Linked DNA regions of Homo sapiens: region 1 is linked to region 2. The links are contacts of gene promoters, found by promoter capture Hi-C in blood cells and fetal thymus (Javierre and others, 2016). All regions are on one chromosome and are shown on one strand. Each heading gives the region's core, a stretch centred on a gene start or on the middle of the fragment in contact. The rest is flanking DNA. Distances are from core to core; before and after follow the strand shown.

What was found. The method cuts DNA at HindIII sites, captures the fragments that hold promoters and counts their contacts. A CHiCAGO score of 5 or more calls a contact.
Region 1: a fragment that was not itself captured here is called in contact with the fragment with the promoter of LRRTM1 in region 2 in 1 of 17 cell types (endothelial precursors); the score reaches 5.3 in endothelial precursors.

The regions. Positions count from the first base shown.
Region 1 is chr2:80,515,670-80,518,369 of GRCh38, forward strand. The region is part of intron 9 of CTNNA2 (catenin alpha 2); the gene reads left to right. Among named protein-coding and RNA genes, the nearest start is that of LRRTM1, 210 kb to the left of the region's middle. The HindIII fragment of the contact is 1,981 bases long and covers 456-2,436 here.
Region 2 is chr2:80,303,480-80,306,255 of GRCh38, forward strand. LRRTM1 (leucine rich repeat transmembrane neuronal 1) reads right to left here and starts at 1,273. Exons shown (of 2, transcript NM_178839.5): 1 at 673-1,273; 2 at 1-399. The coding sequence starts at 340. All of the region lies in intron 7 of CTNNA2 (catenin alpha 2), which reads left to right. RefSeq lists an enhancer at 90-715. The HindIII fragment of the contact is 8,902 bases long and covers 1-2,776 here.

The DNA of each region.
Region 1 (2,700 bases), core at 196-2,695, 210 kb after region 2:
ATGTGTTTTTTATTATTCACCACATGAGCTCAGATTTGTAAAGAAACATAGAAACTGAAGACCTAATTTACTTCTTGCTCTGCTTTGTGGAAAATAAAGCAGAAGGGGATGATGGCCAAGGTCTGGTGGCTTCAGCCGAAATCAATTGAGGCTTCAGATTCCATATGAATGGCAAAAGCCTCAGTATCACTGAATTGCATGTCTGTTTCATCCTTACAGATGGGACAAAAACTTGCCCAAATCCAGATCAAAGGAACCAGTTTTGATGGTTTTTGCTAAGGTCTGGGTGTGTTTTTCCTTATCCACCTCTCTTTCACACTATTCTGTCTCTTCTCTCTCTCTTTCTCTACTCCTTTCAGGTCAAGTGTATAGATGACCTCCTTCTCATTACGGACAACAGTGGGATTCATTATGCAGAACATATCTCCCTGAGGCAGAGTGTGTGAAGCCACCCAAGCTTAACATCTCTGGGGCAGGAAGGGGATGTGCTCAGGAAAGCCTTTGTGTCCAGACTGAGCTGATTGGCTAATATGCATCTTGCCTTTGGCCACCTCATGCCATGAATATCTAAGCAACATTGGGTTTTTTTCTCAGGGCAGAAGCAGAGAGATGGAAGATAACAGAATGGTGTTTGTTACCCATATGTAGGATGCTATTTACATAAAAGCCGCAGAAGCTATGTGATTTCCATGCGGTCCTTACCGTTTTGCCTCAGCTGGGTACCTGTGCAGGCCAGGGTGACTGGCTGCAAATGAGCTTCCTACTTGTCTCACCCTACACAGCTCTGCCTCTCCCCATTAATGCTCCCCATCTGGTCCTCAAAGCACCTCAAATAGGTCCAAGATTAACTCTGGCTGAGGGGAGGAGGTCATTTTTCAAACATGGTTAAGCACGTGGCAGGGGCTGAGAATATCAACTTTTCTTTCTCAGGAACATGTGAACTTTTTTAGTGTTAAGCAACACCTGAAAACTATTCATCTTAATGCAGAGTTAGTTTATACCCTGAGAAAACAGGATTAACCATTCACAGTCCTGATCATCTATGTTTAGTTCTCTCTGTAGTCTTTGGAAGTTACCTGCCAAGGACAGAATTTGGTCTCAAGTGAGCAAGAAATACAGACAAATTAAGTGCCAGATTCCACTTTTCTAACAACGGTAAATTAATAGTCCTTACCTAATGGTGTTCTTTTTACTTGAGTTAAGGCATAACTGAAGTTTTCTCTTCCATGTGAAATCAGAAGAGATTTTTATTTCTTTGCTTCATTCCTCTCATGAGGGGTAAGTTAAGTTTTGTTTTTGGTAGAAACTTCTAAGTTCCAATTGCTTTCTCTCACCCCACCCCTCCCCAGAAAACAATCCTCCTGTTTGTCTGAAATGAAGAAGGAAGGCAACTTGGTGCTGCACAGAAAGGTAAAAAGAGATGGATGGGAACATTTGTTTCTGACCTTCAGCGAAAGAATTCAGTTAGGCACTATAAATTTGTTTTCTGCAAATGGGAGAGCATAAGTGTGCTCCATCAGGGTGGAGGAAAGCATTTGCACCCAAAACATGGAACACAAAATAAATCGATCAAATTAATTTTTGGCTGTCAGCCCTGGAGGCTCATTTCCCATCAGCAGTATCAGGAGGAAAAGGAGCAGTTAACTTGTAATGATTGGGGAAGGTGGGGACCACGGATGGATTTGCTCAGGGGCACTGCAAAGGGTGCCTTGCTTTCACTCTTCCCACCAAGAATTTGCCTTGTCTGTAATCACAGTGGTCTGCTGCTGCCATGGAGGAAGTATGTAAGTTGCCCTGGGGCCCAGCTGTGCACTGTTCTGCTGGCCCCAGTCCTTGACCTTATCTGTAGGAGTTACTCCTTTGAGTTAAAGGATGACAGGACCACTTACAGGCGTCTATTAATCTTGTGTAACTGTATACCTTTTGCCAGGCAAGGAACATTCCTAGGGGATGGGTGATGTCAAGGAAGTGTTCATTGAGGAACTTGTAGAGAGAATGTCTAGAGCCGAGAGTAATATTGGGGAATCCTGCCACAAAATGGTGCTCAGGACAAGTTTTGGGCCACATAACCCCAAATCGTTTTAATAACATTGGAGGCTTTTTGCATTGCATCAACACTGAGTCATTTTCTGGACAATATTTATTTTACTGTTTGTTGCCTAAACTTGGTCTGCATGATTACTTTACTGATCCAGGAAACTCATTTTATGATCAGAGTGTATTGAAAACATTGGCTTGTCAGTATGGATCACACTAACCAGATATTTGCCAGAATTCACATCCCTAAAGTATGCTATTTCTAGGGATTACAAGTAAAACACCTTCAGGTGACGGGCAGTAAATGCAAGCATTTGCTCCAAGGCAAGACACCAGACTTGCCATTAGACTGCAGATAGCTGGAAATGCTGTCCTTCACTCAAAGACATTTATATTAAAAGCTTTGAATTTGATCTGTGATTTGACAATTTGAAATCTCAATGGATTATTGAGGTGATTCTTCAAGCATATTTTTCATATTCAGTTAAGTAAATGATGAAATATTATTTAGTTAAAAGCAGAGTGAGCTGATGATCTCTAGTGGATGTGGAATGTTATAATGGAATAATTGGATCAGTCTGGTCTTCTGGTATTGGAACATCATTTCCCCAATCTGTCAAGTTCTCCCCTTCTTCCTACACCCACAGAAGCACAGATTTTGGT
Region 2 (2,776 bases), core at 23-2,522:
GGCGCAGTTTCTGAAAGGCGTCCCCCTGCACGGAGCAGATGTGATTGTGATCCAGATAGAGCCACGTGAGCTGCATTAACCCCGTGAACTGGCCGGCGCGCAGCTCCGAGAGGCTGTTGTAGCGCAGGGACAAGCCCAGCAGGCCGGACAGGTTGTGGGGCGCCTCGGTGAGGTTGAGCGCCTCGCAGTACAGCAGCCGCCCCTCGCACCGGCACAGCTGCGGGCACCCGCTGGGGGCGGCGGGCAGCATCTGAAAGCAGGCCCCCAGCAGACACAAGACCACCCCCGAGGGCCTCCTCAGCAGCCAGTATAGACAGAGACCGAGCAGCAGGAAATCCATTAGCGAGAATCTTTCCAGAGAGACTGGAGAATGTCCATTGGAAGCGCTCGGTCAGAAATCTACATCATATTTTATTCCGAGGGAGGGGAAGCGGGGGAGGGGGAGAAAAGGGCAAAAAATCAAATAAATACATAGAAATAAAGAAGGACCCCCCTCCCCAAAAACCACACGTTCACCTCTAAGCATGCAGAAAGCTGGGCAGCATAGAAAGTTCACAGCCACGGAAAGATCAAAGAGATGGTGATTTGGTCCATGTTAGATGCTGCAGCAAAGAAAAGGGAGGAAAAAAAAAATCTTCGGGAAAGAATTTAATTAAAAAGTGTCTTACCCACCCTTTTCCAGAGAGTGACAACCTCCATTCAGCTGCTCCCTTTGTGTGCAGGCTAATTATATGCAGGGCGAGAGAAGACCCCTCTGTGTTTCCGAGGCAGCCCCGGTCCGCGGCCGGCGGATCTGGCAGGCGCACAATGTCTCACTTTGCTGCTCGGCTCGGGGCTGCAAGGGCGGCCGGCAAGGCGGGGAGGCGACTTCTAGGACCCGCAAGTTTCCCAACTACGTGCCGGAGCCCGAGCTTCGCCTTCCTGCCGCCTTCCTTTCCCTCTGCAGTTCGGACTGTGACGTTGTGGGGGGAAAAAACTCCAAACTCGGGGCTCGCGACTCCCCAGGATCTGACAGTCTGGTTAATGTCCGTCATTGGAAACGACCACTGACCGGCGCCACCTTTTACTCCGCGGAAACAGCCTGCCATTCGCGCCCCGGGCAGCTGCAGAGAGCGGGCTCACTCATGCTTTGCGGGCGGCGGGCGGCGGGCGGCGGGCGGTGGGGAGGTGCGGACGGCGGCGCGGGGAGCGGCGAGCGGCGCCCGGGCTCCTTCCCTCCACCAGGCAGTGTGCGGCGCGAGCTTGCACAGGCACCTACTGCTCACTGAGTGTCGTAAGCTGCTCACGATTGTGCGTCTTCCCCGAGCACCTCAGACATGGGCAGATTGAAAAGGGGTGGGCATAAAACCAACATTTTACCGAACCACTAAAGTAATATATGTTTTTTGATGAAACGGAAAACACTTTCAGCTTTTTTGTCCATATTTCAAAAAAAAAAAAAAAAAAAAAAAGGAGGGGGGAGGGAGGTGGAGGTAGGGGTAGCATCATCCACGACAAGATATTTCCAAGTGGGAAACTGAAATGTTCTGTGCTCTCCCCCTTGCCTTTTGGGGATATATTCTTTTCCCCTTTAAAACTGTCTACGTGTAAGAGATACGTAGGAATCTGTAGAGAAATCAACGTTTGGACCTTTGCTTTAGAAAAGCAACTTGAGAGAAGACACAGGAAGGCAATGATTTGGGGCTTGGCTAAGATTTTTGGGGTTTTTTCCCCCTCTTGCGGGTACTGGAATTCTGCAGTCAGCCAGCCCTTTTTTGAGGTGGAGAGGGGAAATGCTTTCCAAACCCACCTAGTTTGGGAAGCCATCCAAGTCCCGGTGGTGTGAGATCCAGTGTGGCAAAAAGGTATGTCTGTGTGCAGGGAGACTTGACTGAGATCCCTCCGGGGCTTCATCAGGCTCCACAGATACATATGGGGTACAGAGTGGATTAAAGAACGATTGTACTGTCTGACATGGGGAGGGCTTACCCTGACTTGTGCTGTTCATGGTGATTACTGGGCCCTGCAGTGCACCCCACTCCAAGAGAGTGTGAATGTGTAGGGACGTGATAGTTTAAGCCATAATGAAGCCTACCCGTCTCCATACACACATCCTAATTAATCTTTGAGACTGCACTAAGTTGTGCCACTTTTTCCTCTGAGTATGACGAGAAGCCTTTGCCTCATTATTTCTATTCATAATCATTTATAGATAGGAGTCCTTACAATGAGCTCTCCCCCCACCTCCCCACACACACACCTTGTGCCTACTGGTCTGTAGAGGGTCTGCCCTGGGGAGGGTCAGTTGGTCATCTGTTTAAACAAAGTCCTCCAAGATGGCTGAGAAAGCCTGCGGGAAGTGAGTGTGGGCAAGCCTTCCTTCTTGACAAAGATGCCCAGGGAGATGGTAGGGAGAGTCAAATGTGAGTCTCCAGCTCCACTGTTTGAATTCCCATCGTTTCTGCCTCTAAGGAAGTCAAAATCAGTAGGCATTATATGTAGTGGCACTTACTTTGATAGGAATGAGGGTGGATTACCAGAGCCAGGGTAGATAGACTGGACAAGTAACTGGATTGGTCCTTAGCATCTAAGCTGAAGAGGCCAACCAATGGAATCAAAGTCACCAAAGACTGGTGGTACTTTTCAGGAAAAGTCATATGAACAGGGGCATGAATCATTCCATTTTGTATTCATCTGAGCTCTGCCCTGGTCATTCATCTCTGAGATGTATCATTTAATTGGAAGGAACACAAATCTGAAATGTCCTAGACATCACATGCTGTCTTAGGAGTTAGAA